3 separate regions of the Homo sapiens genome follow, and all the other regions are linked to region 3. Evidence: promoter capture Hi-C in 16 types of primary human blood cells and fetal thymus (Javierre and others, 2016). All regions are on one chromosome and are shown on one strand. The core of a region is centred on a gene start or on the middle of the fragment in contact, and the rest is flanking DNA. Distances in the headings are between cores, read along the strand shown. Region 1 overlaps TTTY14 (testis expressed transcript, Y-linked 14). Region 2 has its middle 80 kb from the start of EIF1AY. Region 3 holds the start of KDM5D (lysine demethylase 5D).

Region 1 (3,751 bases), core at 939-3,438, 670 kb before region 3:
CACCATGCCTAGCTAATTTTTGTATTTTTTTAGTTGAGATGGGGTTTCGCCTTGTTGGCCAGGCTGGTCTCGAACTCCTGACCTTGTGATCCACCCACCTCGGGCTTCCAAAGTGCTGGGATTACAGGCATGAGCCACTGCACTAGGCCAGGAGACCCCGTTTCTAAAAAAATAAAAGTAAATTAGCTGGACATGGTGGCACATGCCTGTGGTCCCAGCCACCCAGGAGTCTGAGGTGGGAGGATCGCTTCAGCCCGGGAAGTCAAGGCTGTAGGGAACCATGTTCACGCCACTGCACTCCATAGTGAGCCACACAGTGAGATCCTGTCTCAAAAAAAAAAAAAAAAAAAGGCTTGCTAAATGCTAAAATCAAGTGATATTAAACTAAGACCCAAAGGCTGAGTAACAGTTATCTTGGAGTTGTGATGGAGGCATCTGCATGGGAGACAGCGATAGATATGTCAAAGCCATGCCAAAAACTATGGTACCTGGCTCAACTGAGGAAAGGAAAGGCCAAGGCAGCCAGAATGACGCAGGATCCGACTGGAGGCCTGAGGCGGGGTAAAAGAATGAGGCATGTATTCAGAATTAGGCCACAATCATCATTTGGGATGTTATTAAAAAAAATAACATCTGAAGTTCTGCCTTATACATACATAAAACAATATAAGCTGAATCTGACTCTAGGTTAAGAGATGCCATGAAAAAGGTTTCTCAAACAAATAAAAGCCACTTAATAATAGAACCCCTGGGCCGGATGTAGTGGTTCCTGCCTGTAATCCCAGTAACATGGGAGGCTGAGGTGGGCAGCTCACTTGAGCCCAGGAGTACAAGACCAGCCTGGGCAACATAGAGACCCTGTCTCTATATTACGAAAAGCAAGAGGCAGGAGAATCACTTGAACATGGGAGGCAGAGGTTGCAGCGAGCCGAGGTTGCAGCACTCCAGCTGGGTGACATAATGAGACTCCATCTCAAAAACAAATGAACAAATAATACACAATAAAATAATAGAAACGTCTATCAAAATTAATGAAGTGATCATTAAAGTGGATCATGTTCTAAGGCTAAAATGGCTTCTATGGGGGTCAGGTGCCATGGCTCACGCCTGTAATCCCAGCACTTTGGGAGGCCGAGGCGGGTGGATCACGTGAGGTCAGGAGTTCAAGACCAGCCTGGCCAACACGGTGAAACAAAAATTAGCCAGGCATTGTGGCACATGTCTGTAATCCCAGCTACTCAGGAGGCTGAGGCAGGAGAATCACTTGAACCAGGGAGGTGGAGGTTGGAGTGAGCGGACATTGCACCATTGCATTCCAGCCTGGACAACCAGCGAAACTCCACCTCAAAAAAAAAAAAAAATGCTTTCTAAGGCAATTATTTAGTTGCCTGAGTTCCAAGAGCTGAAGATTGACACCTTCTTTCATATGGTTTTACGATAAAAGCTAGAAAGTTGAATTGCACAGACATTCCATTTAAAATTTAAATTAAAAAAACACACACTGAAAACATTTCAACATTTCAAAACAGTAACTTTTAGTTATTTGAATTCATTCAATTTTTCTATAAAGTTTACCAAACGGGTCACAATTCCTACAGAACACTGACTACACAGCAATTTAAATAAGTTGATACAACATGCTGTTAGATAAGCAATGTATCTTCACCTATTCACTAGCAAATACCTTGCTATTAAATAACACTCATCCACTACACTTACCATTTGACCGATGAAGAGACTTATACAAGGTAATGGACAGACCTAAACACTTATTTTGGCAACCAAATGTAGATTATTTTCTGAACCAGCATTTACTGATACTCTCTCTGTTATTTAATGGATGATGGGCTCATTGCCCATATGCAAAGTAAATTTCCTCTTACATTTGATGAACCATTAATTTTACTATGTAAAACACCAAAGTACCAGTTGCAAAGTAATATTACAGGACTTGCTCAATCACTCTCAAAAGACACTAACAGAACTCTAAGTATTCCACGCAGCCAACATTTAATAAAAGAAATCAAGAGCTCAGAGACGCCAAATAAAATCTCAGGGTCTCTGATTTTGAACTATCCTAGTTATGCCATTAATGGCATTTGCACACAACAAAAATAGTAACTGTTTCAATAGTACTTTTTCCACAAGCAATATCATCTTACATGTTGGCTGAATAAGTCTCATTGCCTCAAAAAGGATCAAAAGATTCTAAGTTTTGCAGTTCAACAATTGTGAACAATTTTATTTCTCATTTCAAGTGTAAAGGATATTGCTCAAATCACCGCATGAAACTCTCTCCTCATGTAAGAAAGCCTGAAATCTGATTTCTCTACCAAAAAAAAAAAAAAAATCCAGTTCTTGCAAATGGATACAAAACTACTCATAACCTGCAAAAACCATGAAACCTAAGCATGTTACATCTTAACTGTTATAAGAAAAATAGTTAAAGCAAAGGGAGCTGTCAGAGAATCTTCATTTTCCCAGTGTCTTCCAAAACTTCTTGGAACTCGTATACAAGAATACCTTTCAAAAACACAACAGAAGCAGAAAACGTCAATCGGGCACCAGGAAAAGAGCAGGCCTAGAGAAAAACCTAGACTCCCCTGCCACCGACCTTCCCAAATGACACAGATACAAGCGTTAACAGCACAATCCCTCTGAGAGGGGATTGAAACAATGTGGCAGGTACGGACACACACACATACACACACACAGGACTGAATCAATGTGGCAGGGACACACACACACAAGACTGAATCCATGTGGCAGGGACACACACACGACTGAATGTGGCAGGGACACACACACACACAGAATCCAAGTGGCAGGGACACACATACACACACTCTCACATCACTCCCCACTCCCTTCCCCAACGCCCTGGATGATGAAATGAGAAACGGAAATTAACATTTCAGGCAACGTCTCACATTGTTCCTTAAGGGCAAGAGCTGCTGTTGAAGCCGCCACCGCCGCCGCTTTCCTCCCAACTCCCTCCTCCGACCTGCCTACCCTCCCCCCTAATAACCCCCACACTGTTGGCCCGCATTCCAGTCCCTACTCGAACCTACGCGCGCCTCCAGCAACCCTGCCTTTCGCCCGCCCCCAGCAACCCTGCCTTTCGCCCGCCCCTTCCGGCTGGGATCCCGGCAGCTGCCTGCTCTCATTCCAGAAGAGCAATAATAATAGGAACGCTGGCCAGGCGCAGTGGCTCACTCCTGTAATACCAGCACTTTGGGAGGCCAAGGTGAGCGGATTACGAGGTCAGGAGATCGAGACCATCCTGGCTAACACGGTAAAACCCCGTCTTTACTAAAAATACCAAAAAAATTTAGCTAGGCATGGTGGGGGCGCCCGTAGTCCTAACTACTCGGGAGACTGAGGCAGGAGAATGGCGTGAACCCGGGAGGCGGAACTTGCAGTGAGCTGAGATCGCGCCATTGCACTGTAGCCTGAGCGACTGAGCAAGACTCCGTCTCAAAAATAAATAAATAAATAAAATAAAAAGAATACTACTACTAATAATAATAGGGACGCTGAGAATAACAACTACGACCAGAACCGAACAGCGAAGGCGCCCCTGTTGTGTGTTAGAAGTCGGCGCCCCCCGAGTTCCGCAGCAGTCAACACCTGCCCAGGGCCCCCCTCGGCAGCCCCTCACAGCAGCCCCCGGGCTCCCAGAACCCCCAGGCGCTCCCGGAAGCCCCCAGTCGGTCCCCCACAGCCCCCTGGGGACCTTCTGCCCCGCCAG
Region 2 (3,561 bases), core at 760-3,259, 910 kb after region 3:
GTTTTATAGAGAGGACTGAAGGAAATCAAAATATTTTACTTTGAAATATTTTTATTTGATATATTTGAGATGGCTATGCAAAGGGCCTGCAAGGAGAAGAAATCCTCAAAGCTGTTTTTTTTTTTTTTTTTTTTAAAAAAGAGTCATATTTGCATAGAAAATTTACATTAATGCAGCCAGACTTAGAAATACTGAGTGACAAATTTAAAAAGCTGGAAAAAAAAATGTACTATTCTATCTGAGGACTGCCTTCTATGAGATTTAATCTATATAACAAGATAAAGTTTGCTAGCTAGGCCTTCTCTTCTCCTCTTTCTATAACTTAAGCATCTTTAGTTCTAGTTGCAATTTGACATAATTTTTTGGATTATAGTTTGCTCACTGTAACTTGTTTTTTCATGCTTCAAGCATCCATTTTTTCCTCTAAGCTCAATTAGTATAAAAGCATTAAAGATCTGGCTGTTTATTTGAATTTTTATGTTTTATATAATGCTCATACATGTTAATAAATTTATATACCCATTTATTTTTCAAAATGGCAGACAGGAGGTAGTGTTAGCATGCCTTTCACCCTTGAAAGAAAAAATAGAGGGTAGAAATTCACACTATGAATTGTTTTTTTCAAGTACCACTTTGAATCTTAATAGGAAAACTGAAAGAATCCACACAACCTTTAAAAGAAGTGGCGGCCGGGCGCGGTGGCTCACGCCTGTAATCCCAGCACTTTGGGAGGCCGAGGCGGGTGGATCATGAGGTCAGGAGATCGAGACCATCCTGGCTAACAAGGTGAAACCCCGTCTCTACTAAAAATACAAAAAATTAGCCGGGCGTAGTGGCGGGCGCCTGTAGTACCAGCTACTGGGGAGGCTGAGGCAGGAGAATGGCGTGAACCTGGGAAGCGGAGCTTGCAGTGAGCCGAGATTGCGCCACTGCAGTCCGCAGTCCGGCCTGGGCGACAGAGCGAGACTCCGTCTCAAAAAAAAAAAAAAAAAAAAAAAAAAAAAGAAGTGGCAAGCTGATTCCTACTCTATGAAGCAGGTAAAAAAATGTTTCCAGAGTGTTAAAGTTAGAAAGCCTGCATCTGAGCACACAACCCTAGGTAATCTGAACATCCAGATTACAGGAGAAGCCCTTAACCCTACCCAAAGAGATTTAGGGGGCCACATGAAATGTAAAAGTAGAAGCAGCAGCAGAAAGAACCTTGTACGCATTCCTAGTATCCAGCATGAGCTGAGGGAAGTCATCCATGACTACAACTCACAAGGGCCTTCATGAAAGTCAAACAATGAGATCAGGGAGTGTCACAGTGTGGAAGGAGCTCCCAAGTGAATTTTGTAATTCTCTAAATGGGGAGAAACTTCCTCGAACACAACTGGGGACAAGTGTGAGGATACTGTAGACAGGAGCACAGGAGCTGGGCAGCCAGCTTCACATGAAGACATAGAGGGTCATGGAATAGAAATCAAGGTTGTTATCTCTGCAGGGAAGCTTACAAAGTGGGGAAGATCTGAGTTGTGTGTGCAAGCTACCTGGATTTAAACAAGGTGCTGTTAATGGGGCACTGTTCAGGTGAGACCAGCTTTGTCAGGTTTTTGGGACCTGGGTGAGGCTTATAATTTCCTGCTACTCCCCACACCATTTGTGAACTTTACTGCCCAGCAGAGGCAGTTTTACTCCCTTCTGGAATATTACCTAGTGACCTGGATATTTTCTTCTGGAATATTACCTAGTGGAATATTACTTTCTGGAATATTACCTAGTGACCTGATAAACACAGTGGCCACAGCTGGCCCTGCCCAAGGAGAGTGTGAGCTCATACCTAACACTGACCCCACCTAATGGTATTTCTCTACCTACCCTGGTAGCTTAACACAAATAACATAAACTTTTAGGAGTTTTATGACCCCATCTATCACCTGAGAACCCAGAATACTTCTACAGAAAAACAAAGTAAGCACAAATCTTACTGCTACTACCACAGCTGGTGCTCTCTTTTATATGCCATCTCTTGGTGGGAGGCCAAACTGCTTAGGCCATTACAGCATCTCTCAGCAGAAGAGCACTGCTCCTAGGAGTGAGAAAATAGTTATGGGAATCTCAGCTAACACCACTGCCTACAAAAACCTGGCCAATGACAGGTCATAAGTGTGTACATGTTACAAGTTCATTACAATTAAAATCAGCATTCAAGAAAGCCATCACATTAAGTTTATATACAACTAAGGAATCAAATGGTGTATGTCATTCCCCTGCCACCTCTAAGGGAGCAGGCACTGGTATCTACTACTAGGAGACCTGAAGTCAGGTTGCATCACTAGATCCCTTCCAGACATTTCCCAGCACGAGCTTGAAGTTTGGCAGCCCATCTGGGTAGCTAGACTCAGAAGAGCAATAACAATAAATGCAGTGCAGCTCTCAGAAAGTTCCATTCACAGGAGAAGGAAGGATCGTGCACCATATCAAGGGAACACCCAGTGGGACAAAGGAATCTGGGTGGAAGGCCTTCCATCCATTATCTTTCCCACTGGTGGGAAGCTTCTTACAGCAAAGACATAATTGCAGTGCTAGTTAAAGCAGGGAAATTCTGTACCTCTACCCCAACAGGCAGGCAACCTCCGTGATTGTAAAGAGGCTTGGAGAAGAGGTCTGTTCCCACTCCCACCCCCTGCCACACCGTATACCTTTGCAGACAGAGCTGGGGCTTGTCTTATGGGATGCAGCATGAATTAATCTACAGGCAAACTTCCGGGAACAATTCAGGGTAATTGCATCCCCGCAGGAGGAGTGCTTCCCTGATTCAGACCCGCACAACAGGCAGAGTCACAATTTCTGTCTACTTGGAACATAAACGTTCCTATGGATGATAAGAGGTACCTGTTTGATCTGAAAAGCTAAAATATGGGACAGGAATGAGGCTGAGAGGCAGATAACTTTTCTCCTTGTCTGGCAGGGGTGCTAAAGTAGCTCTCCCCTTCACTTTGATAAATCCTCAGCACATCTAATTGAGAGCTCCCACAGCCACCTTCATCAAAGGTTGGAACCTCTACCCAACACTGGGTATTACATCTTCCTAGATCTACCCACATTAGCTACAACCAGTGTCTACCCAGGGTTACCTGCCCTATTGACTGAATCATCAACTCAGTAAATAAAATCCTGGGGGGAAATTAAATAAATAAATGAAATGTACACATTTTAGGGGGAAAATTAAATAAATAAGTGAAATGTATACCACTTGAGAATGAGCTAAGCTTCAAGAGATCCCTGCCATTCCAAAACCATAGAAGCCAGTGAACTCATCCACATACCAAGAACATTACTACTACAACCAGCATCTCAGAAAGCCAGCACAAAAGGACGCTCTATAAGTAAAAAAAACTCATACAGGGTCATCACCACTACAAGCACCAAGAACAAAATTAAGCTAAAATAAACTATAAACATCAAAGTCAGATTATTAGGAATAAGAAAAAATAATCAAGTAAAAAATAAATTCAAGAAAAACTTAAAAAAATAGTTTATCCATGTGAGAAGAAACAAGAAAGGTATTCTAATAATATG
Region 3 (3,802 bases), core at 715-3,214:
TTGCAGTGAGGCGAGATCCCGCCACTGCACTCCAGCCTGGTAGACAGGGTGAGACTCTGTTTCAAAAAAAAAAATTCATTCATTAAATATGTGAGTACGAGAAGACAAAATGGGAAAGGTACTGTCATTTTGATAGTTCTAACCTGAAACTATTGAACAGCGAAACAATGCATCATTCTTCCTCAGATATTTAAAGCCTTTGTGTTCTACCATTTTTGTGGACATAAATTATGTATTTTATAGAAGACTTTCTCCAAAATCAGTATTCTGGAAAATGGTGGAGTTCGGGTTCAAATTCAATACATTAGATTTCAAAACTTAAGTTCTACATTATTATGAAACTACAACGGCAAGATTAAAGATCAGATTCCTTTAAAAAAAGTGTGCCTCCCAATCTTACCTCCAGTTCATTTAGCCTTTGGACGCGAGGAGTAAATCTGAAATTGTCAACTTCTACTGCAAAAGGAGGCTGCCAATCCTAGAAGAAAGTGTAAGGACCTGGTAACTATGGCACAGTAAAGGATGAAGATAGTGAAAACCACAATCATTTGTTCCCACTCTTTTAAAGTCTTCTGGTAACCATTTTTGTACACAAGGGCCTCAAATGATTCCTTCTTCATAATCAAGATTAACTGCAAAAAAAAAAAAAAAAGGAAAAACCCTGCAAATCCAAAACTCTCCTTGATATGTGTCCTTCGTAACAGACGAAAAAAAAAAAAAAAACCTCTATAATCCCAAGGCTAGAAAGCGACTCGACTTCCAAGGAATGACGCACATCTGAACAAACACTATGCTATTTGGGTTATGAGTCCTTACTAAAATGAAGATAAATGTAATGCAGATAAAAAATTGTTTCACTTTTTAAAACCTAAGCCATTATCTCTTCCCACTCCCAGCAGTACGAAAAAGTTTAATTGCAAATGCTGAGAAGTGCGAACATCCACATAAAAATAACGTTGCAGCCTGGTTCAATATATGAGAAAAAAGCTGTATGCTCTGCGAAAACTTTTTGACTTCTCTGAATATTGTGTTAGTTGTTCACGACGACAGCCCAGGCTTATTTCAGTTTACATTCTTAATTCAGTCAAACTTCTACGAGGTTCATTTAGTAGTTTTCAGTATAGCAACCCAAAATGGTCTACGTTTAATAATAAATTTAATTGATGGCAAAGGATGCCACATCACTCCCATTATTTGCTATATTTGCTACATACATCTAAGGTCATATCAAAGAAAGAAAACACCAGTCCAAGTGGTTAACACACAAGCTTATATAACTTGCTTCTGTCATAGATCAAGTACTTCTGAGTAAGCTATTTTTTTGCGGTTAAATGTAATAAAAGCTTGTGTATGCCTAAACTATATTTAATAACAGCAGAACGTAGAAATATTTGAATCTTATATTTTTGTCCCTACAGCAGTCAGATGTTTAGAACCCCGTGGAATGTGGCGATCTGATACTAATATTCTGATGCCAGCTTGTTCGGGTCAGAAAAGTTAAATGAGAAATTTGGTGCTAAGGGTTTCTGGTCATGAGTGTAAATAACGCCTCGCCAAGTGGTAAACTGCCCCAACGTTCAAACCAAAGGCTACCCATTCCCAAATTTTGTTTCAAAGACTTACCGCGGGTGGGCGGATTTTGCAGATGCCAGACTTCTCTGCTATGGGCCTTATTTTCGCAATGTAGCCAAGCGGGTCTTGGAATTCAGCCCAGCTAGGCTCAAAAACCGGGCACTCCGGTGGCGGCAGGAACTCGTCACACCCCGGTTCCATGTCGGGCCTTAATGCTAAGCTGTAAAATAAGAATCACATTGTCTTTAATGACGCGCTGGTTCCTCCTACTAAAAGGCCTATGAAAATTTCATTTTCTTGAGAATTTCAAGGTTACTTTAATCCCGTAGCTGCTTACCAATCGTCAGGGATCCTAGTTTTACAGCCACCATCTTGACCTCCGGGCCCTGCAGTGTGGTACGAGCCGTCTCACTCCGCGGATCGATTTTTCCGGCGCTATTTCCAAACCTGTGAGACCTTCCGCACCTGAGATAAACGCTGAGGACGCAAGAGCGATTTTACCAGAGGAAAACAGTCACAGAGCCGTCGCTGGACTCATATTAAACAGTACTGCGACAGAACGAAAAAGCAAGATAAAAATAGTATGGCCGGATCTTTTTTAAAATGGGACCACTGCGCAAGTTACGCCTGCGTATTGCAGGGAAGGACCGTAAAAGGCTGTGGTGCTGATCAACGAAGGATTTCTCGGAGAAAATTCCTCCTTTGCGGAAATGTCCGTAGAAACGCACCTTTTTTTTTTCCTGCCAGGACAAACCGCCGGCGATATCCGTTCATGTGAAAGTGTTTACTAACATTCTCTGAAGACTCACTGGGTTCTCAGCTCGAGAACGTTCCTGTCACAAGACGTTTAGGAGGCAGGATGCCGGTACAATGTATTTATGTTCTTGTAAACTGTTGCATTAACAGTGCACTTCAAGTGGGCACATTTGTCGTTGGATTTTTTACCAACTCGAGCTTGGACTTTAGGACGGGGAAAAGAAGTGCTAAATGTTTTTGAATAAAACCTTTACTGCACATGATAAACATCCCTTAAAAATTACCTAGGAGCACCCTAAATTTTAAAATGATCACAAAGACCTGGACAGATTACAGTAAACCTTCAACATCGCTAAACACACGTACCATAAATCAAAAGAAACACACTGCTAATGATCCGTTTTTTGATGTGGAAATATCATGCTGTTTTTAAGGGAAATTATACTTTATTGCGATGTTTTATTTCAAAACAAGATGTTACACTTTATTTCCTATAATTTTATTTACAATATTTTACACCCGTTAAGCAAAAATCCCCCTACATTGCTATTCTGTTTTTTTTTAATCAGTTCACTACTGTAGTATCTTTTTGTTCTCCATATATTTTTGAAAAATACGCAAAAGGTAAGTTTTAAAAATCAAATGGTAGATTTTATTTGGAAGGGCACTGCCAGAAGTGCCTTAAAGTTTGATAGTTTGACAATTGTTTCGTATTGTACGATTCTTGGCATTTCCGTTTTTTTTTTTAACAATTTATCCATTTCATCTAGATTATCGGCTTCATGAGTTTATTATACTACATTACATATATATTCCTGTTTCAAAAGTTGTTACTTAATTTTCTGCTTTCTTTTTCCTAGTTTTATCTACATACTTTTTCTGTTTCATAAAGTTAGAGTTATAGAGTTCTATTTCATAAAATTAGTTATAGAGCCTGTATTATTTCAAATGATGAGATCTTTTTTCTCTGTTCAAGATAATTCATTATAATACAGCTTTATATTTTATGAATTCATTAGTAAATAGATATTTCAATTTCTACTTTTAGCTATTATAATGTTGCTATTAGCATTTGTGTACCGGTTTTTGTGTGCATGCTTAGTGTCATTTCTCGTGTGTATACACCTACAAGTAGAATTAGTGGGTTATATGGGAACTTTAGGTTTAAACTTTTCTTTTCCAAAGCATCTTCATCATTTAATTTCCATCTAAAGTGGAATACCGTTCTAGTTTCTTCATGTCCTCACCAATACTATAATTACATGACTTACTGATTTGACCATTACAATGTGTATGAGATCTCATAGAGTTTTGAGTTGGACTTCTTGAATTACTAATGATACAGTAGTGTTGAGCATCTTTTCGTAAGGTTGTTGGCTTGTTCATATGCTTTATATACCTTCTCTGGAGAAATGTCTATTCAAAATTTTTGGCTCTTTTCACATTGGTTTGTCTTTTTTTGTTTAGTTGTAAT

The links. The method cuts DNA at HindIII sites, captures the fragments that hold promoters and counts their contacts. A CHiCAGO score of 5 or more calls a contact.
Region 1: a contact is called between a fragment that was not itself captured here and the fragment with the promoter of KDM5D in region 3, in 1 of 17 cell types (neutrophils). The highest score is 7.0, in neutrophils.
Region 2: a fragment that was not itself captured here is called in contact with the fragment with the promoter of KDM5D in region 3 in 1 of 17 cell types (fetal thymus); the score reaches 5.8 in fetal thymus.

Annotation. Positions count from the first base shown.
Region 1 is chrY:19,073,011-19,076,761 of GRCh38, forward strand. The region is part of intron 1 of TTTY14 (testis expressed transcript, Y-linked 14); the gene reads right to left. Among named protein-coding and RNA genes, the nearest start is that of TTTY14, 2.7 kb to the right of the region's middle. The HindIII fragment of the contact is 8,631 bases long and covers 1-3,751 here.
Region 2 is chrY:20,653,506-20,657,066 of GRCh38, forward strand. No RefSeq gene overlaps it. Among named protein-coding and RNA genes, the nearest start is that of EIF1AY, 80 kb to the left of the region's middle. The HindIII fragment of the contact is 1,047 bases long and covers 1,487-2,533 here.
Region 3 is chrY:19,742,762-19,746,563 of GRCh38, forward strand. KDM5D (lysine demethylase 5D) reads right to left here and starts at 1,965. Exons shown (of 27, transcript NM_004653.5): 1 at 1,910-1,965; 2 at 1,624-1,792; 3 at 401-478. The coding sequence starts at 1,773. It overlaps KDM5D-DT (KDM5D divergent transcript), which reads left to right and starts at 2,024. Exons shown (of 3, transcript XR_938630.4): 1 at 2,024-2,952. The HindIII fragment of the contact is 5,320 bases long and covers 1,342-3,802 here.